7 separate regions of the Homo sapiens genome follow, and regions 1, 3, 4, 5, 6 and 7 are each linked to region 2. The links are contacts of gene promoters, found by promoter capture Hi-C in blood cells and fetal thymus (Javierre and others, 2016). All regions are on one chromosome and are shown on one strand. The core of a region is centred on a gene start or on the middle of the fragment in contact, and the rest is flanking DNA. Distances in the headings are between cores, read along the strand shown. Region 1 overlaps TRAK2 (trafficking kinesin protein 2). Region 2 holds the start of MPP4 (MAGUK p55 scaffold protein 4). Region 3 overlaps TRAK2 (trafficking kinesin protein 2). Region 4 overlaps KIAA2012. Region 5 has its middle 5.5 kb from the start of CASP8. Region 6 overlaps FLACC1 (flagellum associated containing coiled-coil domains 1). Region 7 overlaps CASP8 (caspase 8).

The links. Contacts are between HindIII fragments. The CHiCAGO score rates a contact against its expected background, and 5 or more counts as called.
Region 1: a fragment that was not itself captured here is called in contact with the fragment with the promoter of MPP4 in region 2 in 1 of 17 cell types (endothelial precursors); the score reaches 5.7 in endothelial precursors.
Region 3: a fragment that was not itself captured here is called in contact with the fragment with the promoter of MPP4 in region 2 in 1 of 17 cell types (erythroblasts); the score reaches 6.4 in erythroblasts.
Region 4: a fragment that was not itself captured here is called in contact with the fragment with the promoter of MPP4 in region 2 in 1 of 17 cell types (fetal thymus); the score reaches 5.2 in fetal thymus.
Region 5: a fragment that was not itself captured here is called in contact with the fragment with the promoter of MPP4 in region 2 in 1 of 17 cell types (endothelial precursors); the score reaches 5.8 in endothelial precursors.
Region 6: a contact is called between a fragment that was not itself captured here and the fragment with the promoter of MPP4 in region 2, in 1 of 17 cell types (erythroblasts). The highest score is 5.3, in erythroblasts.
Region 7: a fragment that was not itself captured here is called in contact with the fragment with the promoter of MPP4 in region 2 in 2 of 17 cell types (erythroblasts and megakaryocytes); the score reaches 7.4 in erythroblasts.

What each region holds. Positions count from the first base shown.
Region 1 is chr2:201,433,925-201,437,262 of GRCh38, reverse strand. All of the region lies in intron 1 of TRAK2 (trafficking kinesin protein 2), which reads left to right. Among named protein-coding and RNA genes, the nearest start is that of TRAK2, 16 kb to the left of the region's middle. The HindIII fragment of the contact is 6,958 bases long and covers 1-3,338 here.
Region 2 is chr2:201,697,029-201,700,091 of GRCh38, reverse strand. It overlaps MPP4 (MAGUK p55 scaffold protein 4), which reads left to right and starts at 1,448. Exons shown (of 22, transcript NM_033066.3): 1 at 1,448-1,505. RefSeq lists enhancers at 1-316, 317-818. The HindIII fragment of the contact is 2,266 bases long and covers 1-1,463 here.
Region 3 is chr2:201,379,289-201,382,296 of GRCh38, reverse strand. It overlaps TRAK2 (trafficking kinesin protein 2), which reads left to right. Exons shown (of 16, transcript NM_015049.3): 16 at 1,079-3,008. The coding sequence ends at 1,754. Among named protein-coding and RNA genes, the nearest start is that of FLACC1, 23 kb to the right of the region's middle. The HindIII fragment of the contact is 3,042 bases long and covers 1-2,960 here.
Region 4 is chr2:202,166,820-202,169,767 of GRCh38, reverse strand. The region is part of intron 15 of KIAA2012; the gene reads right to left. Among named protein-coding and RNA genes, the nearest start is that of KIAA2012-AS1, 51 kb to the right of the region's middle. The HindIII fragment of the contact is 4,560 bases long and covers 1-2,948 here.
Region 5 is chr2:201,253,590-201,256,572 of GRCh38, reverse strand. It overlaps a transcript of CASP8 not described here. Among named protein-coding and RNA genes, the nearest start is that of CASP8, 5.5 kb to the left of the region's middle. The HindIII fragment of the contact is 6,710 bases long and covers 1-2,983 here.
Region 6 is chr2:201,297,131-201,300,572 of GRCh38, reverse strand. FLACC1 (flagellum associated containing coiled-coil domains 1) reads left to right here. Exons shown (of 15, transcript NM_001127391.3): 12 at 1,273-1,335. Among named protein-coding and RNA genes, the nearest start is that of CASP8, 38 kb to the right of the region's middle. The HindIII fragment of the contact is 173 bases long and covers 1,170-1,342 here.
Region 7 is chr2:201,271,723-201,274,973 of GRCh38, reverse strand. It overlaps CASP8 (caspase 8), which reads right to left. Exons shown (of 9, transcript NM_001372051.1): 4 at 2,198-2,336; 5 at 2,032-2,076; 6 at 21-85. Among named protein-coding and RNA genes, the nearest start is that of CASP8, 13 kb to the right of the region's middle. The HindIII fragment of the contact is 7,281 bases long and covers 1-3,251 here.

The DNA of each region.
Region 1 (3,338 bases), core at 278-2,777, 260 kb after region 2:
GTTCTCAAATTTCCACAGCCTCCTATTTATTATAGCCTTCAAGCTCTGAATCTAATAACCTCCTGGATTGCAGATAGCCAGTAGCCATATCTCAAAAAATTTACCTGTTCTTATTTGCCCTGAAGTTCATGGGCAAACCAAAGGCGTCTATTGCATGTTAATTCTCCCTCAAAAAGTAACCTTATCTTCAAAGCCCTTGAGTTGTCTGTGACAACTGGTTTTGAAAAACAATGAGTCTTATGTCTAAACATACTGTAATTAGAAAGTCTCTCGCCTAGTAGAATTACATTACTAAAATAGGTATGTCTTTAATATGCAGATAATTCTAGAATAAATCTAGAATTATATGTGTTTATAATACTCCATCCTGACCATCACTCACCGCCATTTTAAGTTACCCTCTGTTCTGGTCATATAAGATTGCACGTCCTGGTGCCACTGATTACTTCGTTGACTTGAAGAGCTATATTGCCTATAGTTTTTCTTTTGACACTGATCATATGGGGACTTCTGCTTCTGAAGGCCTTAAGGACTATAATTTTTAAATAACTGAAGGATTTAGAGTCATCTTAAGCCACCAAAAGCAAATTTGTGTTTTATTGTTAGAGAGGACAAAGAGAAATGAGGACATAGATTTTCTACCTCTTCTTGACTTGTTGCTGTTTTTAAAATTTGTATTTTCCTTACTGCTATGTGAAAGTGCCATTTCAAGGGGTCTTCCTAGCTATTTGATTTGAGGATAAATTCTGAAGAGCAGATTATACAGAAATATTCTTAAATCTGTTAGCACAATTGTCATCTATTCAGTCTGTTTCTAATCTTCTGTGAAGTATTTCCAGGTTTTCGGCCAATGGTGTCTTTTTATTGAAACTAGCGCCTAAATTTTGCCAGTCATCATTGAAAGAAAATTCTTTCTGACTTGTTCAGGAAGGATTTATTTGTTTCTAGAAGTACAGTACATATTTTAGTACCCACAGATTCTATTGTATAAAATGCCTCTGCTTGAGATGTATTCCCCCATTTTTGGTTAAGAGAACAGGAAATCCATGAATTCTATGATGCCATTTACTCTGCATTCCTCATTTTTGAAGACCTATACTTGTTTTTTTTCCTTTTTTAATCGTTACTTTAGTCAAAAGGACATAATTTTCTGTTGAAAAATAAAAAATATGGTAACTATATTTTATTAATATCCTGGAATATAAATTATTGACAGCAACTGCCCTTGTGAAGTAATATTTTAATATGTCTAACCCAAGTGTCAGCTGAGTGTCCAGACCCTTCAAGAGTGAAATAGTTGCTGTAAACCTTCAGTTGCATGTGAAGGTTTCATATGGGGAAGCCAAAACCCTCCTTATGATTTTTGCAGATTTCTGGTGTTCTCTCTGAGCTCCTGCCATCACCATGAGACCTCTCTCTCTTCCCTCTCCCTTTTAGGAGAAAGAAAAAACAGTTATTTCCCTGTCTCTTGCAGAGCAGTTTAGCCTTCTTTTTGATGCTATGAGGCCTTACCTTCTACCTTAAGAGACTTTTCCAAGTCTTTTCCCAAACAAAAAGTATTTCTTTCCTAAAAGAAGCACTGTTGTCAGCTGTTAAGATAATAAAATGTGTACTTTGTTAGGTATGATTTGGTAATAATAACCCTTTTATTAACACTTAATTTCTCCATTAATCTAACTTTCAAATATTTAAATAATGCATACTAAACTCAGTCTCCATTCTTGAAAAGTTATAAGAAAGCCTATCTTGAAAAGGCTTTTGCAGTGTTAGATGTGAATATTATTATATAGCCTTGGGTAGCTTTTATGCCAAATGGCAGAGAGAAGATATTGCTCACTTAAGAGACTACAGAATTTCAGGTAGAGTTTATGTCAAGTTGCTCTTTCTTTTAAAGAAATAAATCAAGGCCAGGCATGGTAGCTCTTGCCTGTAAACCCAGCACTTTGGGAGGCCAAGGCAGGCAGATCACTTGAGTTCAGGAGTTCAAGATCAGCCTGGACAACATGGTATAACCCCATCTCTACAAAGACATACAAAAATTAGCTGGGCATGGTGGCAGGTGCCTGTAGTCCAGGCTACTTGGGAGGCTGAGGTGGGAGGATCGCTTGAGCCCAGGAGGCGAAGGTTGCAGTGAGTGGAGATCATGCCACTGCACTCCAACCTGGGCAACAGAGTAAGACCCTGTCTCAAATTAAAAAAAAGAAAGAAATCAAGAATGCCTTATGAATGTGAGACTGAAGTCTACCTGTTTGAGTTTTACTTTTAGTATTTTTGAGCTATCTTATTTCCTTTGACTAAACTACATATGACCGTCACTAAATTATTTTTGACTGGCAAATAATAATTTGCTTTGTTATTCAGATTTCTAAGCCAATCATGACCTTTTATAGAAACAGTGAATTTGAAAACAAATGGATGATGGGACAAAGCATAAAACTAGGGATGTATAAATATTAGCTAATGCTGTATTAAGCATTTTTATGTATCTCCTTTGATACTGTCACTCTGGGACATCAAGCAAAAGATAGAAATCCTGTCCAGAAGTATAGTTTGAAAACATGTTGATATTGCTTATTCAGTTGCTTATGCAATTTCTTTAAGAGTTTGGTGTTCTTTTATTCTATAATCCAAAAATATCATGATTTTAGGGTATAAATCTATAGGACAGAAAGTCTTTATATGGTCTTATAAATCCTTTGAAACTCTTCTGCTTGAAACTTGAAACTTATGAACTTTATGGATAGGGACAAAGTATACTCCAGAGCAAGGGATTTAGCTGTGCTGATCATCAACAGATGAATATTTTAACTCGGCCATTATTATTATTTATAGCATGTTTGTTTTATATGTGCATAGTTTTGAGGTATTCTGTATTACAAATCCCATTTTTGTCCCTGAAAGCAGTGCTAATGATAGATTACTGGGCACAAAAGTAGAAATTGTGTAAAAATTTGATAGTGAGAAACACCGATTTAGATATATCATTGGACGATAAGAATGATTATGGGCCGGGCGCAGTGGCTCACGCCTGTAATCCCAGCACTTTGGGAGGCTGAGGTGGGCGGATCACGAGGTCAAGAGATCAAGACCATCCTGGCTAACACGGTGAAACCCCGTCTCTACTAAAAATACAAAAAATTAGCCGGGCGCGGTGGCGGACGCCTGTAGTCCCAGCTACTCAGGAGGCTGAGGCAGGAGAATGGCGTGAACCCGGGAGGCGGAGGTTGCAGTGAGCCGAGATAGCGCCACTGCAGTCCGGCCTGGGCAAAAGAGCGAGACTCGGTCTCAAAAAAAAAAAAGAATGATTATGAAGGGCAGTCCCATGATGTGTGACAAAA
Region 2 (3,063 bases), core at 199-2,698:
ACCAACCCTTAAAAATCCGTTTATGTTAAATACTTTGCATTTACATTGGAGATTGTTTTGAGTTTCTGAACAAACACATAAATAACCACATTTGCCTGGTAAAGCCAAATTTACAGAATTTCTGACTCTGGGCGGGGGTGGATAATATGTGGAAATGGACAAACAAAAACTTTGAGACAAATTGACCCATTGAGAAGATTTCCAATGATGATAGGCTGTCTCTGTTCTAAGAAAAGCCATGTTACAATTCGTCCTTTTACTGGAGTCTTGAATGAAACTGTTCAGTTACTTTGGATTCTTCCTACTATATGCTTTTCAGATAGCATATTAAAGTTATAAATTTTGAAGTGTATTGGAAGAAAAACCCTAAATCTCCAGGCCAATGTTTGTAAATAGAAGTCCTTGGCACTCCTGCAGCAGTTTACAATGGTCATTCACATGCGTAATGAATGCTTACAGCAGCCCAAGGATGCAGGTGTTATCCCCATTTCCCCCCATTTTTCAGACAAGCAGTGACCAAGATTTGCTCACTGCCAGAGCTGGGACTCCAGCCTAGAACTTCCCTACTCCCTACTTCCCTAGAAGTCCAGTGCTTTTTGCTACTACAGCTGCCAGAGATGTCATTTCATAGCTGGTTATGTATTGAAAGTTCTTAAAAGTGAGTTAAAAATGAAAATCTTATTGAAATCAAGTGCTTTTCACAAAATATGCTGTACTCAAAACACAAATGTATCACATTCCCAACTTGTGTTTTCATCTATGATGGAGAGATAAGGAAAGCCATGTGATTAATATGGGTAGAAGGGCTGAGGACCCTCTGATAATTGCCATTTGGTCTCTACCTTTTGCCTTGCTGTCAGCAATACCTTCCTCTCCTTTCTGCAATATCCCCTTCCAAATGCTCTCCCCACTGAGCACTCCCTGCAGTATTAAGTTTTCAGATAAAGAAGTAGCTCCTATCTGAGACAGAAAGCACTATTTGTTAGGTTCAGAACAGTGGCTTGGGAGGGGATTGACCAGAAGGTACTGTTTTTGATGGGTTTCTATTATTAGCTGAACAGTCTTCAGTTGTTTTCTCACCATAACATGAGAGATTTAATAAGGTTAGTAGGTTATTGGCTTATTTCCGGTCCTGCCACATTTTTTTCTTTCATTAAAAATGCTATCTTCTGTTGTGGAATGTCTGTCATCTTGAACTAATCAACAAAAATACTATGTTTTTCTGCCGTTAACTATGTGTTGGCAATTTGAGAGAAAATACTAGAATGTAGGTTTGAAAATGATACAAATTAGACTTCAAGGAATACTTAAGAAGATTTGTGGCAGGAAAGGCTTGTGAGTAATTTAGTTGTTAGGCTGGGTTAGGCATCTGTGGATTACATCAAAGAGGATGTGCAGAGATTTTATCGGGAGCAGTGAGGTGACTTTGGCAGCTAACAGGCCACTAGTATCCTACTAAAGCTTTTGTCTGGATAGGAGCAACATGCATGTTTACAGTCTTGCAGGTAAGAGACCTTGGCAAATAATCCTCAGTTACCAGAAGATGTATCCATAACTGCCTAGCTTGCCTGTCAGTTTTTAATAGCTAAAGATATAAATCTGGGTAATCTAACTCAAATGGCTTAGTTTCATTTTAACTCAAATGATATGGGGAATTTTATGATCTTGAAAGAGCAGGTTTTGCTTCGAGAAGCCATTTCTTCAGTATGGAATAATGAGTTGTCAGGAAGATTGAGTACAATGGGCATTTGCCCTGGTCCTAATCAACAGCATTTGGACCCAGAGGAAGCCAGCTATTTTTGTAAGGGCCATTTCTCATCATTAAGTTTCCAAGTGCTTTTTTAGGGTTTGTCTAGTAAAAAGCACTATTTTGAAAAACAAGCATAGTAAGGGTAGGGGGTTGTGGCATTTAATAGTACGTTTTAAAAAGCTAATGGAAATACTTTTAAAACAAGATTTAGGACAAATTCCTTAGGCATCAGTCACACTAATGCATCTTCTGAGTCAAGAACTGGCTATCCTTTCTGTGTACTCAGTCCGGAATTGCATGTGGTGGGTGCTTACTTATTTGCAGTCTCAATCAAGAATTCTCACTCTCAAGATAGCAGAAATAGATAAGCTTCAACTGACAAATTTGGTACAGAAGTCATGGAAAGGAAGGTAAGTCTTTTGCCAGGCATCATGCCAGGCATCAGCATCTTTCAGGACTAAGGAAACAAAAGAGGAAAACTCGATTTTACTACATGTTAACTCTACTGAATACCTCCTTGAATGTCAGATTCCTTATCTGTAAAACAAAGGTTTTGCATTTGATTATCTCTAAGATCCGCTTCTGCCCCCAGTTTTAAAGTTTGATAGGGAAAGAGGTTTAAGTCAGGATACCAGGCCAGGGAGGAAAGGAAGGGAGGGCACAGGCCTCTGGAGTTCAGCTGCCTCCCCCATTAGGATTGAAGTCCCAGCTGCTGGCTACTGCCTTGAGGGAGGTATCAGCCTTTTACTTCTGGATCTTGGCCTCTCCTTGTTCTACCCCTTCCCAACAACAACTGAACATACCAAGTGCTTGCTATGGCCCAAGCACTGTTGCAGGTGAAGCTGCAGCATGAACAAGATAAGCAACATCTCTGCTCCCCAGGCCCTCTGCAGACATGACACCTGCGGGAGACAGACACTGAGCAAGCCAGTGGATACAAGAACTGGGAAAATGAGAAGTGCTATGAGGGCAAGAAGTTGCAACTGTTTTCTTAGCTACCTGGAGGGAGGGAAAATCATTTTCTGGAAGTTTTTTTCTATGAGTTTTGTCTTAGCTTTGGCTGTCATAACAAAGTACCATAGACAGTGGCTTAAACAACAGAAATGTATTTTCTCATACAGTTCTGGAGGCTGGAAGTTGAAGATTGGGATGCCAGCATGGTTGGGTTCTTGCGAGGGTTCTCTTCCTGGCTTTCAGATGGCCGCGTTTTCACTGTGCCATCATCTGGCAGGGAGAGAGAGAACACATGAACTCTGATGGCTCTTACCCAGACGCTAATGACATCTTGAGGCCTCTACCTCATGACCTTAACC
Region 3 (3,008 bases), core at 190-2,689, 320 kb after region 2:
CTATTAAATACTGGTAACATTTGTTTTGCAGGGAAATTGGCTAAAGAAGTACCATCTCTATTTCATCACTGTTTCCTCAAGTACATGATTCGTTAGTTTTTCTTTTCGACTAAGCATAGAATAAGAATTTTCTCATTTGATTATTATAAAAGTAGGCAAGGCAAGTATGTATTGTGTAAAGTAAACCGAGGCATGGAAGGTTGAGGTGACTGGTCCTAGGGCAGACAACTAATAACCCAGCTGGGGCTATATACCCGGAGTTAGCCAAACTGCAAGATTTACAGGGCCAGTCCTCTGCACAAGCTCACCTTCACTTCTGTATATTCAGTAGTATTACTGAATACTGAAGTAATACTGAAGAAGTATTACTGAATAGTTGTCGAAGCTATTAGTTATTTTTAATTTCCTAAAAACACATGTTTCAGGTCAAGGTTGAGAAAAAATTCATCCTATGGATATTTTTATACCATTATTGTTTGAAATTAACATTTCTTGAGAAAATGAAATTTAACAATTAGAAGTTTTTATTTCTCAATGAAATAAAATTAAAAGATTAAAAAGAAAGAAACTTCTCCCAGAAGAGTTTTCATGTTTAATTGTGAAAGATTGTATTTTTTTAAAAGTTGGTAAACTGTTTACCCATGGATTATTGTCTCAATGTATCTCACTTTATGGAATGGATATATGAATAAACATTCTAAATTACTTTCCTTAATCTTCAAATTTCTTTGCCTTCTATCATAAAATTTAACTGTATTTCTACAGATGTACATTTTAGAGTTAAAATTTAAGAGTAAAGTTATCTAAGAGTACAGCAATACCTTTCATATCCCACTGAAAAGAAATATCTTTTAATAAGTTAATTACTAAGTTATGAATTACAAATAATTAATCATTGAAGTATCATGTCAAAATTTTCATTCCCCAGATCTGTTCCACAGCATACAGTTACGGATGTGTTTGTTGCCTGTTACTTTATATTTACCAAGGATAACTACTATAATTTCTTTAAATGCCAGCTTGGAGCTTGCTTTTTATTCTTAAACACTGTCTCCCACTTTTTTTTTTTTTTTTTAAGCTCTGGGTTCCCTTCATTATCCTGTGGAAGTAGCGGTAGCAGTTCATCCAACACGGCTGTGAATTCTCCTGCCTTGTCCTATAGACTCAGCATTGGTGAGTCCATCACCAACCGACGAGATTCCACTACAACCTTCAGTAGCACCATGAGCTTGGCCAAACTTCTACAAGAGCGAGGCATCTCTGCCAAAGTGTACCACAGCCCAATTTCAGAGAACCCCCTCCAGCCTCTCCCTAAATCCCTGGCTATCCCTTCCACACCACCAAATTCACCATCTCACTCACCTTGCCCTTCTCCTTTACCCTTTGAGCCTCGAGTGCATCTCTCTGAAAATTTTTTGGCCTCTCGACCAGCTGAGACATTCCTCCAGGAGATGTATGGCTTGAGACCCTCCCGGAACCCTCCTGATGTTGGCCAGTTGAAGATGAACTTAGTGGACAGGCTGAAGAGACTGGGGATAGCCAGAGTGGTCAAGAACCCTGGTGCCCAAGAGAATGGAAGATGCCAGGAGGCAGAAATTGGTCCTCAAAAACCAGATTCTGCTGTTTATTTAAATTCAGGTAGCAGTTTATTAGGTGGACTAAGGAGGAATCAGAGTCTTCCAGTCATAATGGGTAGCTTTGCTGCCCCAGTTTGCACATCCTCACCCAAAATGGGTGTCCTGAAGGAGGACTGAGGTTCAGCAGTTAACTGACCTTTTATACAAGTTAGCACATGAAGGATAGATATGCACTGAAACATGTGGTCTGGTCTGACTTGAGAGAAAAGGAATGTTGCACAAGGGTTGTGAATGTGAAAGGGGGAATGGAGGAATGGAAATAAAATTGGGATGAGCCCTAATGGAGGAAGTCGGGCAAATTGAAAGTATAAATGAATGGGCCATGAGTGTTCAGAGGGAGAAAAGAAAGGTTTAATATACTCCTTCAGTTGAGTTTTCTTGTCTTGAACATAAAAAGTGAATACAAATAAATTCAGTAATACTAAAACATACAGAGATACTGAACTTGCTGGCACATTTACTTCTGGTAAGCATAAAGCAGAGAGAACCCAGGTTAGAAGGATGGGAAGAGAAAAGGAGCAGTTTTATTGCTTATAGAAAGCCGTTCTGAGGGGTTGGTGGGGTAAGCTCAGTCTATTACTGAGACAATAGTGAGATGGCTTATATGTTTCCCCTGTTAATATCTGGTTAAATTATGTATCCATCAAATGGTATGCTCGCAGCATTAGCAAAATTAGGAGTTTCATCTTTTTCATTGAATCACAGGTGGAGACTCCTATTTTCCTTTCTGTTTTCAGGCCTTTGAGCCCCTGGGAGCCCAAATACCACTCAATTATTTTGTATTTATGATTAATAAAAGTTCATTTTTTAAATTTGTATTTTTATACAACCTCCAAAAAAAAAAACAACTGGGTAGAGGGTGGGAGGGATTTACTTTTAAGAGGCAAAATGTGAGTAAATTGAAACCAAGAAAACTTGTTTTTAGAATATTTCGTCTGAATAAGTACAGTAGCCAAGGAATACAAACATAATTGCATGTTTTTAAAAATTCCTTGGAGGCTGGAAGGGGTTAAGCCAGAAGTGCAATCAATAGGAATTAGGGAATGTTGTATATTTATATATGTAAACTTTTTTTGTAAGAAAAGTTGGTGACAACTAAACCAACTTTTTCCAAAGTGCGCTATGCATATTTTTAATGAAAGATGACATGTATTTGCACAAAAATTCTCAGGCACATTAAATTATTGTAAACTGAAGTAAAACCCGGGTGCTTGCTTTGAGATTGTGGTTTTTTCTTCCTAATGTAAAATAAAATAAAACACATCTGCCTTCTTGATATTTATAGAATTAGAGAATAAACTTTTTAATGGGGGAGTCAAAGCTTTTTCTTTTTCTCTAAGGTTCTTTTTTTTTATTCAAACTGTATGAAAT
Region 4 (2,948 bases), core at 316-2,815, 470 kb before region 2:
TCCCAGACATCAGTGGGCATACGAATCACTTGAGGACCTTGTTAACAGGCAGGTCTGGGGTGAGACCCCAGATTCTCTTTTCTAATAAGCTCCCAGGTGCTAGCTAGAATGGGTCTAGATAGGTGGTTCTTACAAAAATCTCTGGTCTAGACTGCACTATGATGAAACGACTTGGTACACTAGCCACGAATTAGACCAGCCTTATCAGGTTAATGAGGGCATTGGCTGCTGGGACACTCACTGAGAAGCTGACAGAGCCAGTGTCCTCCTTCCCCATCAGCATTAGTTACCTGTTGCCTGTTGGCTGCTTCTGGGTCTATGGTGAAGGTGCAGGTTCTGGCTGGTGGCTGTAGGTTCCTTGACTGCACCCTAGTTAGAGGGCTGTGACCTTAGTAACCCTGGGAGGCACTGTTTCCTCACAGTGAACATCATGCCTGCAGTTGAAGTCTTCACTGTGAGGCCTTGAGGGTAGGAAACTTGGTTTTGTCATCTTTGAATCCTTTGAATACTTAGCATATTCATTCATTCATACATTTGACTCATTCATTCATTTAGGAAACATTTACCAGGCCTGAATAAGGCATGATCCTTGCCTTCAAGCAGCTCACATAACACATGGGGCTATAGGTGGTACTTAGTAGCCACCCAATTAAGCATTTGTGCAATTGAATTAGACTTCATGGATCCCAGGGACCCCCTGCCTGCCAGCTCAGACTTTTCCATCAGAGAGGAATAACCCTTCCATCTCGTTTGAAGTCACTTTACTTTGGCCTTTGTTAGAACAGTTGTACCAACATCCTATCTACTACACATCTGTCTCTTGAATAAGGCAATAGGGCTCTGGGCCTCCTTTTTTTGACAGAACAGAAATGATGGAAATGGCTTATTTGTTTCTGAGAATTTCCACAATACCTGCCTTTCGTCCCCACCCCCACATTGTTCCAGGCTGCTCCTTAAGGACCCCCTGCACCTCATGCAGGGTTCCCCAAATCTCTCACTCCTCCTAAGACTCTTAAAGCAGTTCTGTCATGTCCCAAGGAGTTATGTCACAGTAACTTCACTGAATGCAGAGGCTGGAAGGCTGCTTCATTCATTTTGGGTCTGCTGCCCATACCTGGACTTAAGCAGAGGACTACATGCATCCCCCAAAAGCACCCCCAATACCCCTTATGCCACCCAGACTGGGAAAGTAAAGAAATCATTATGTTATTACCTTAGAATAAGGCTCTCCTGACAAGGAGCAAATTGTGGCTCCTATTAAAGATTTTTAAAGAGTAGATGAATATCCCTTTTTGAGCACTTTGTGATGGGTACTTTTCTTTTTTTTTCTTTCTTTTTTTTTTTTTTTTTGAGACAGAGTCTTGCTCTGTCGTCAGGCTGGAATGCAGTGGCACAATCTCGGCTCACTGCAACCTCCGCCTCCCGGGTTCAAGTGATTCTCCTGCCTCAGCCTCCCGAGTAGCTGGGACTACAGGCACGTGCCACCACACCTGGCTAATTTTTGTATTTTTAGTAGAGATGGGGTTTCACCATGATGGCCAGGACGGTCTCGATCTCTTGACCTTGTGATCCACCCGCCTCAGCCTCCCAAAGTGCTGGGATTACAGGTGTAAGCCACCATGCCTGGCCCTATGACGGGTACTTTTCTAAGCACATTACATAGTTAACTCTTCTTTGTCACAACCACCCCATGAGATAAGTACTGTTAGTATCCCCATTTTACAGAGGAAGAAAAAAGATGCCCAGAGAAGTTTAGTAACTTACTCAAGGTCACACAGCTAGTAAGTGGTGGTGCTAGAACTTGAACCCTGGGAATCAGACTACATAATCAGTACTCTTGATCACAATGATGCTGCCTAAACAGTGCCTGCCAACCAATTCCTTCCCCACTACCTATTATTATTATTATTATTTTATTTTCTTAGAGACAGGGTCTTGCTCTGTCATCCAGGCTGGAGTGCAGTGGTGCAGTCTCAACTCACTGCAGCCTTGAACTCCTGGGCTCTAGGGATCCTCCTGCCTCAGCCTCCTGAGTAGCTAGGGCTGCAGGTCCTCACTACCATGCCTGGCTAATTAAAAAAAAATTTTTAGAGGCCGAGATGCAGGGCATGGGGAGGGGTCTTGCTATATTGCCCAGGTTGGTCTCCAACAACTTCTGGTCTGAAGTGATCCTCCTGCCTCCCAAAGTGCTGGGGTTGGAACCATGAGTGACTGTGTCCAGTATTCCTTCCTACTGTTTTTAAAAGAACAGGTTAAATTGAGTTGCTGCCAAATTCAGGGAAATACATACTGGAAACAAGGCCCAGGGCAGCGATTCAAAACTGTGGTTGCTGGTCCACCAGCATCAGAATCACCTGAGAACTTACTAAAAATGCAAATCGTCAGGCCTCAGCCCAGATCTAATGAATCAGAAACTCTGAGGGCGGGGCCTAGAAATCTTTAGTTTAATAAGCCTTACAGGTGATTCTGATGCACATTGAAGTTTGAGAACCATTGGCCTAGGAAATAAACAAGAATTGAAATAAGAATTGAAATTTTATTCTTTCCCTGGACTTTGGACAGGGGTAGAGGAGTGGAAAGTTTTTTTTTTTTTTGAGACGGAGTCTCACTCTGTTGCCCAGGCTAGAGTGCAGTGGTGCGATCTTGGCTCACTGCAAGCTCCGCCTGCTGGGTTCATGCCATTCTCCTGCCTCAGCCTCCTGAGTAGCTGGGACTAACAGGCACCCGCCACCGCACCTGGCTAATTTTTTGTATTTTTTAGTAGAGACAGGGTTTCACCGTGTTAGCCAGGATGGTCTCGATCTCCTGACCTTGTGATCTGCCCGCCTCAGCCTCTGAAAGTGGAAAGTTTTGTATTTAAAGCCAGAGCAATTTTTCAAAGCCACTTTGATTTGGAGGTTGCTGATTTGACCTGTCTTGTGGAAACTTGAAGTGTTCTCACCAAGTCT
Region 5 (2,983 bases), core at 53-2,552, 440 kb after region 2:
TGTGGATGGAAGAGCAACAAATTTAAACTAATAGTGACTGGTGCATAAAGGGCAGAAGGTCCTTGGTTTCTCAGTCACCTAACAAAAAGGAGTTGGCCTAATAAAGGCACAAGCTAATACTTATCAAACCATTGGCGTATGCCAGACACAGCCACCTAAACTAGCTCATTTCCACTTCTGAACAGTTCTCAGAAGTGGATGCTACGATTGGTCCCATTTTATGGATGAGGACACTGAGGCTTAGAGAGGCTGAAAGACTTGGCCACGCTCAGTCAGTGAGTGACAGAATAAGGTCTGTTTGTCTCTAAAACCCTGAGTGGTTAGTCACCACCTAAACATTAATGCATAGCCATGAATCTCAATCTGACCCACCTCAGAATTAACTGTAACATTTCTAAAAATATGAGTCTTCCAGCTCCAGCTTTGGAACTCCTATCTGAGCAAAACTGTGGGAGATAAAACAGCTGGAGCACTTAGAATAGTGCCTGGGCCTTCCACATTTCTCAATAAATAGGCTGTGGGTGCAGTGGCTCACACCAGTAATCCCAGCACTTTGGAAGACCAAGGCAGGATGATCGCTTGAGCCCAAGAGATCGAGGCCAGCCTGGGCAACATAGGGAGACACTGTCTCTGCAGAAAATTTTAAAAAATTAGTCAGTTATGGTGGCATGCATCTGTTGTCTCAAGCTACTCAGGAGGCTGAGGTGAGAGGATAACTGGAGTGTGGGAGGTCAAGGCTGCAGTGAGCTATGATCACACCACTGCACTCCAGCCTAGGTGACAGAGCGAGGCCCTGTCTAAATAAATAAATAAACAAATAAATAAATATTCACTACTATGTTATTTAAGCTCACAACATCTCTAAGATGGCTATAAATTATTAGGCTTACATACAGATGATGCAATTAAATGCAACATCAATTAGCTGACAAATGGCAGGGCCAGTGCATGAACTCAGGAGTGTCTCACTCAAAAGTTTCTGCTCTTAGCCCCTGTACACATCTCCCTGCATGTACCCAGGCCCAGCCTAGCAGAAATGGATGATCTGCTGGAGGCATCTGAGGAGCAGTACTGAGAATGGGGGGAGCAGGGTAGGAGTGGGAGTCTCAGGGCTTCAACTTGTGCCATTTGTAAGGCACTGACCCTAGATTCTCCCAGTGTGTGTGTATATATATATGACTGATAAATGAATTATGGCCAGGCACAGTGGCTTACCCCTGTAATCCCAGCGCTTGAAGAGATTGAGGTAGGCGGATCACTTGAAGCCAGGAGTTTGAGACCAGCCTAGCCAACATGGCAAAACCCCATCTCTACTAAAAATACAAAAAAATTAGTTGGGCATGGTGGCATGTGCCTGTAGTCTCAGCCACTCAAGGCACGAGACTCACTTGAGCCCAGGAGGCGGAGGTTGCAGTGAGCCGAGATGACACCATTGCACTCCAGCGTGAGTGACAGAGGGACACTCCGTCTCAACAAAAATAAAAAGTGTTAATAAGTGAATTATAAACCTCAGGTTGGTTGAATTCCTATTGTGAAGCACAAAGATCATTATTACTTCATTTGCTGTAACCAACTTCTCACCCTCATCTTGAGACATGTGCCTGTGTGACTGTTTATATCAGAATTAATAATGTGCATGGTCCTTAGTCCCAGGGAAGCTGAAAGATCCGGAGGTGTTGCTGGAGCTGCAGGGACATGGAGAGCTGGCTCCTGCCCAGCACAGAATGAGGACAGGTCTGCTTTGACTCAATCTCCAAGTGGTTTCCACCCTCTAGAATCTCAGCTCCCACCTGGAGGCCTGGTCCTGAGACTACTGTGTCTCCTACCATGTCCACCAGCCGGCTGAAAGCAGATTTGGACCTGTAAGTGTCCCTAAAAAAGCCAAGAAAGACCAAACCTCAGCTCAACTGCAACACACCCTTCCCATTCATCTTGATGTGACACCCTTCAAAGATAAACACTCACAGTGAAAGCAAAATCCCCTGAATGTGCATGCCCTTTGTTTGTTGCCAATGTGGGAGTTTGTATATAACCCATGGGCCAGGATGGTGTGGTTTGTGGATTCAACGGGGCCGCTCCCCTTTCCTTGACTGGCAGCTGGCCTTGGCTACTGCCCTAGACTCCTCCTCCAGAGCGTGGCAAGGGAAGGGAAAACAGATTCCATTCACATCTATCTCATTCCTTTCTGGGCCTTGTAGGGAGAGGCTCAAAGAGTTGTCTAAGACAAAGATTTTAGCAACTGGGATTTTAAGTTTTTCTTTTGGTATTAAAATGATCAGACAGTCATGGGGCATTTACAGTTACTGACCTCAATCTGCATACTCTGCAGCTTGTTGATTGCCAATACCTACCCCTTCTGCTTTCTCAGAAAAACTACTGCAGACATGAATCCGTACCACGGATTTAGAAAGGAAGAAATTGAGTTTGTTAGACTCTGATTCCAATATTCATGTCACTGACCTAGCTTTTCCAGAATTTTTTTTTTTTTTTTGAGATGGAGTTTTGCTCTTGTTGCCCAGGCTGGAGTGCAATGGTGCAATCTCGGCTCACCGCAACCTCCGCCTCCTGGGTTCAAGCGATTCTCCTGCCTCAGCCTCCCGAGTAGCTGGGATTACAGGTGTGTGCCACCACACCCAGCTAATTTTGTATTTTTAGTAGAGACGGGTTTTCTCCATGTTGGTCAGGCTGGTCTCGAACTCCCGACCTTAGGTGATCGACCCACCTCGGCTTCCCAAAGTGGTGGATTACAGCTGTGAGCCGCTGCGCCTGGCCCAGAATTTTCTTAAAGGTTTGGGCATAGAAGAGGTGAGGATCCCCAATATTCTTGAGGCACTATATGCCCATACCCAAGAAATGGGGCACCTCAGACGCTAAGAATAATTGTCAAGAACCATCTTTTAAAATGTATTAATTGTGGTAAAATATATATACCATAAAATTTACCATTGTAACCAGTTTTAAGTGACATCAAGTACATTCACGT
Region 6 (3,442 bases), core at 7-2,506, 400 kb after region 2:
CTCTCTTCAAAGCTGTCAGACAGGGATGTTTAAGTCTGCAGAAGTTTCTGCTGCCTTTTGTTGAGCTATGCCCTGCCCCCAGAAGTGGAATCTACAGAGGCAGGCAGGCCTCCTTGAGCTGTGGTGGGCTCCACCCAATTCGAGCTTTCCAGCCGCTTTGTTTACCTACTCAAGCTTCAGCAATAGCAGGCGCCCATCCCCCAGCCTCACTGCTGCCTTGCCATTCAATCTCAGACTGCTGTGCTAGCAGTGAGCAAAGCTCCGTGGGCGTGGGACCCTCCCAGCCATGCATGGGATATAATCTCCTGGTGTGCCATTTGCTAAGACTGTTGGAAAAGCACAGTATTAGGGTGGGAGTGACCCGATTTTCCAGGTGCCGTCTGTCACGGCTTCCCTTGGCTAGGAAAGGGAATTATCTGACCCCTCGCGCTTCCCAGGTGAGGCGGTGCCCCACCCTGTTTCGGCTCCCGGTCCGTGGCCTGCACCCACTGTCCTGCACCCACTGTCTGACAAGCCCCAGTGAGATGAACCTGGTACCTCAGTTGGAAATGCAGAAATCACCTGTCTTCTGCATCACTCATGCTGGGAGCTATAGACTGGAGGTGTTCCTATTTGGCCATCTTGGAAACTCCCCCTAAACCTCTTTTCTTTATAAATTACCCAGTCTCTCAGGTAGTTCTTCATAGAAATGTGAGATCAGACTAATATAGTGTCTTTGCTGTATTTGGGGTGTTAGGACTCTCCGTTCTGTTTGACTATTTTTCCATACTTAGGTCAACAACACATTGTCTTGACTACTGAAGTTTGAAATCGGGTAGCAAAGGTTATCTAGCTTTGCTATTGTTTTTCAAGATTATTTTGCCTTTCCACATGCTTTGTATTTTTACATAAATGTTAGAACTAGCTTGTCAATTTAGAATTAGCTTATCAAGGAAGTTTGCTGATATTTTGACTGGGATTTCATTGAATATAAAGATCAATCTGTGGCGAGATTAATTCTTAAGAGTATTGAATCTATCCACTGACTTAAGAAAAGCTTTTGATGAAAATATAATTTCTTTTAATATTTGTCAGTGAGATAAGGTTGAACATAATTAAGATTTTCATTAACTTCAACAAGTCATGTCACTAGTTTATAATGTGTGCTTCATTATAGCAGTGTCTAAGCTTTGGTGAATATTATATTCCTGAATCCTAGTCTGGCTTTCTTAACTCCCTAGAAGATGTGCCAGAACCACAGTGCTAACCTTTTCCCAATAAAATTGTTTTTAGGAGCTCTTGAAACAACATCAAAGTGACACCTTGCAATTAGAAGAGCTGAGAAAAACCAAAGAGGTAAGCTTTTTCATCCTTTCCTGTGGACTTGGTATATTACAAATACACCAATAAAATAACAAGCTGTCAGTATAATGGAATCAATGATAATTTCCCCAAAGCCAATAAGAAATGGAAGACCTAAAGCTGAGTTTACTGGATTCAATAAGTTAAAAAGAATTTTTGAAATTATCTGTAAAATAAAGCCAGTGGGTCTTTTTAAAGTCTGATTTGAACAAATAGATCAGCAATATACTATGTGATCTTCAATGTTGAATGACTTTCATTTCTAGCAAGGTTCAAACCACAAATGATCTTTCAGTTATAAAACACCAAGTTCTTCCCTTTGAGCTCTGAAAAGTATAAAACTGTCTCCTTTGAAACTCTGTCACCAAGCCCCTCCTTAAGCTCTGAATGTACCTCACACATGATAACTTCCTCAGGGACTCTATTCTGGGGCAAATTATGGCAGTCTGTGGGAGACAACTGAAGAGGAGCCGTTCAAATCCACAAGGTGATGTGTGATTCTTCCATCACTGAAAATTTGACTTGGATCCAGAATGGACACGTTTGAGAAAACATTAGTCATTATAAAGGCATTGTAAATGAATTCTATCTTAGAGCCCAGGCAGGGCTTCAGCATTATGGAAAGGCAAACAGACTGTGGTGTCCTACAAGTTCAAGAAATGGGCTTTGGAGGAAGATATACCCAGTGTATTATAATAACTATTTTCATGAGCTTGTCTACGAATTCTGTCATTTGTGTCATGTCTGGGCCTGTTTCTCTTCATTGATTTTTCTCCTCATTTATGGTCATATTTCCTTGTTTGCATGCCTGGTAAGTTTGGCTTGGATGTCAGTCATTTTGGTGTTTACCTTGTTGGGTGCTGAATATTTTTATATTCCTTTAGATATTCTTAAGCTTTGCCCTGGGATGCAGTTAAGTTGCCTGGAAACAGTTTGATCCTTTCAAGCCTTGCTTTTTAAGCTTCGTTGGGCAGAACTAAAGCAGTCTTTAGTGTGGAACTAATTTTCCCCACTATTGAGGTAATACCCTCTGAGTACTTGACACCACACCCTCTGTATGAGAAGGATTTTCTACTCTGCCTGGTGGGACCATGAACTATTCCCAGCCTTGTGTTGGCCCTGGGGATTGTTCCACCTGCTCCTTGCTGATGTTTCCTTCCTCTAACCTTGTCTCTTTCTATTTCTTCCCTACATCACTCCACCCCAGAGGCACTTGCCTCCTTGCTGTTCCCTTAACAGGCCAGGATGTTCCTACCTGGGGGTCTTTGATGTTCTCTCTTCCTGAAAAGCTCTTTCCCGGATATCCACATGACTAACTTCCTTTCCTCCTCCTGTTCTTTATTCAAATGCCACCTTCTCAGAAGGTGCCCGATTTAAGGGCTCCGCTCCCTGCCCAACACTTGCTTTTCTCCAAATGGGATGCCACTGGAGGTTTTTGAGGAGAGAGTATCATTTGGGAAAATAACTGTGGCAGCAATGTGAAGGAGAATCTGAAGAGGCAAAATGATGGGAGGCAGAACCTATTAGAAGGGTCACCTCCCCTTTACACCTCAACCTGACTTCTGCTCCAATCCCAGCCATGGAAACTGTTCTTGTTAAAATCACAAGTAAATTCCGAGTTGCCAAATCCAAGGAATGCTTCACCTCACTGGACATGAGCAGTATCAGGTGCGATTGATCATTCTCTCCTTGCAACATTCACCTGTCTTAGCTTTCATGGGCTTCTGGTGTTTCCTTCACCTCATTGGTCACACCTTCTCAATCTCCTTTACTAGAACTAGAACTCTGCTTAAAACCCTTCAATGGCACCCCACTGTTCTCCCACCTACTTTCTAAGTCCTGGAGTATTTTGAGGCTTGTTCCCAGGCCCCACTTATCTTCTTTATCTCCCGTTTCTCCTTTGGTGAGCTCATCTGTTCACACAGATGTAAAAGCCATCTCTGTACTGATAACTTGGTTTGATACCTCCAGCCTTGCCTCTCTCCTGAGCTCCAGGCTTGTACATCCAACTGCCCATTTGACATTTCAACATAGGTGACATACAGACACCTCAAAATTAACATGCCCAGTTCCACACTCTCAATTTTCCACCAGAGATTTA
Region 7 (3,251 bases), core at 132-2,631, 430 kb after region 2:
ATTTGGAGGTTTCCGTCTACCTGTGATTCACTATCCTGTTCTCTTGGAGAGTCCGAGATTGTCATTACCCCACACAACTCCTCCCCTGCAAACAACGAAGAGACACATCTAGAATGAGACATGGCAGGAAAGGTACACTGGTAATGAAATATGTAGCACATAGGACAACATAAGGTCTTTTTTAAGATGAAAATTCAAGCTGGGAACAGGGGCTCACGCCGGTAATCCCAGCACTTTGGGAGGCCAAGATGGGCAGATCACTTGAGGTCAGGAGTTCAAGACCAGCCTGGCCAACATGGTGAAACCCTGTCTCTACTAAAAGTACAAAAAAATTAGCCGGGCGTGGTGGTAGCCACCTGTAGTCCCAGCTACTCAGGAGGCTGAGGCAGGAGAATCACTTGAACTTGGGAGGTAGTGGTTGCAGTGAGCTGAGATCGCACTACTGCACTCCAGCCTGGGCAACAGAGTGAGACTCTGTCTCAAATAAATAAATGAAATAAAATGAAAATTCACAGACTGCCATGAATATAATCTCCTTTCAAGCCAGAGAGATTCTGCAAGCAGGGCAATTAACATGCTTCTGGAAACACAAGATCAAGTTGTCTCCTCGCCAAAGAGAAAAACATACCAAGAAATGCCATAATTTTATATTGCTCCACATGGCCAGGTTGAATTTTTGTGGTATTTGTGAGATACTCATTAATAAAGCCACTAGCTCAGGATGAATTAATGATTTAGTACTTTACTCCTTAAAGTATTCTTAAGGCCTTAGGCTCAGCAGGCAGAGGGGAAAGGGAAGGACAGCCTGCATAGACATTAATCTTTAAAATACATTTGAGTGATCCAAAATGTATTTTACACACACACACCACAAAGAGCCAACGTAAAAATACAATAAAAATATTCATAATATGAATGGAGTGATGGTGTTCTTGGACTTGTAAAAATTTCTCTGAATTTAAAATAATCTTCAATTAGTGTATATAATTTTTCTAATCAGAAAGAATACTTTATTAATTGCCTATAGTCCCAGCACTTTGGGAGGCCCAGGTAGGTGGATGGCTTGAGCTCAGGAGTTCAAGATCAGCCTGGGCAACATAGCGAAACCCCATCTCTACAAGACATACAAAAATTAGCCGGGCATGGTGGCTTGTGCCTGTGGTCCCAGCTACTCAGGGGGTTGAGGCAAGAGGATCATCTGAGTCCAGGAGGTCGAGGCTGTTGTGAGCCAAGATTGCATCACTGCATTCTAGCCTGGGGGACAAAGTGAGACACTGTCTCAAAAAAAAAAAAAGACTATTTGATTAATCAAAATTTTGAAGGAGATCGTTGAGAGCTCTCTCTCTTGGTTCAGCCTCGCTTATCAGGTAGAAAAAGTGAAAGGAAGTTGAAAGGAGTGACTTAGTGTAGAAGGTGTTGAAAGAGAAAGTGACTTAACCAAGAAAATTATGAAACATAATTTAAATCCAGCTACTCAGTGCATAACATGAGCAGCACGTCAAGGAGAAAAAAAAAGCCACATAGAAAAAATGATGTTAAATTACTTACTACTGACTAACTCTGCACCTATTTCAAACTTGCCAGCTTGGGCTACAGGTCTTAGGAGAGCAGGTGCGGCCGGGCGCAGTGGCTCATGCCTGTAATCCCAGCACTTTGGGAGGCCAAGGCAGGCAGACCACCTGAGGTCAGGAGTTTGAGACTAGCCAGGCCAATATAGTAAAACCCCATCTCTAATAAAAATACAAAATTAGCTAGGCGTGGTGGTGCACGCACCTGTAATCCCAGCTTCTCAGGAGGCTGAGGCAGGAGAATTGCTTGAACCTGGGAGGCGGAGATTGCAGTGAGCCGAGATGGTGCCACTGCTCTCCAGCCTGGGAAACAAAGTAAAACTGTCTCACAAAAAAAAAAAAAAAAAGAAAAAGTAGAGCAGGCACGTTAAGATGTGCATGTGGTAGAAGGCTGTGGGGAGGACACATGCAGGTACCAGATAGTAAATTAACTAAATCTTGAAAATGTATCTCCAAGCATTACCATTTGAAAATTCATCAGGACTTCCTTCAAGGCTGCTGCTTCTCTCTGAATTAAAAGGGGAAACCCCAAACAATATTTGATTAGAAACAACTGTGATATGGAGCGATTTGTCAGTTTCAATTTTAGAGTAGGTTTTGCCGATTCCCGGCTGTCAGGTTGTTTCTACCTTTGCTGAATTCTTCATAGTCGTTGATTATCTTCAGCAGGCTCTTGTTGATTTGGGCACAGACTCTTTTCAGGATGTCCAACTTTCCTTCTCCCAGGATGACCCTCTTCTCCATCTCTATGAAAATATCCAGCAGGTTCTAAGAGGAGGAGAAATAAAGTTGGGAATCTGGATTGAGCCCTACTGGTTTTTAGATTAGATTTTTTTTTTTAATTTCCAATTTCTCCAACCAAGGACCTGCCCTTGCTTCCCAAGTTTCTGACAGTTTCTGCTGGTCTCTCACAGCCAGCAGGCTACTAGGGAAGCGATTCCATGTTTTCTGGCCCAGAAAGACAGAAGTGAGAGGATAAAGGAGAAGCCATGTCAGATGTCACCCAGTCCCCAGGCCCTGTGCTCAAATCTCCTGCGAATGCATTACTTGGGGACTGTGAAACAACCTGAGACAGCAGCCCGGTCATCATGGTGACACCCTGGGGAACAGCCTCACCCCCAGCATTGCCTCTCCAGACCTGAGTACATACAGACACACAGACACACACACACAGACACCACATGCACATACACACACAGATACAACACACACAGAGTATACTCAGTGATACACACACAGGGGCATAAATACAATACACACTACACAACACACAGACACACATACCACACAGAGAACACACACACAGAGATACACAGACACACACACCACTTATACAGAGACACACAGAGATACACATATCACACACAAATACAGACACACACTATACACAGAGAAAGGCACACACAGACACGGAAATACACACACAACACACAGACACAATATACACACAGAGTTTCAGGTCCCAGGTTGTTTCGGGGACTGCAGAAGTGGAGGAAATATCTCAGACCCACCGCAGTCTTTCCCAGCTCTGCCGGGTCTGGGCTGCATCTGCACAGCCTCCTTCTCCCGGCCTCTGACTCTGCCTTGCTCCCAATAATTAACATGAGCAGCACTTCGGTCTAAAGGAATCACATCTGTAACACTCGTGCTGACAACTTTCTTCTTCTAGTTAAAAAGTGAGAA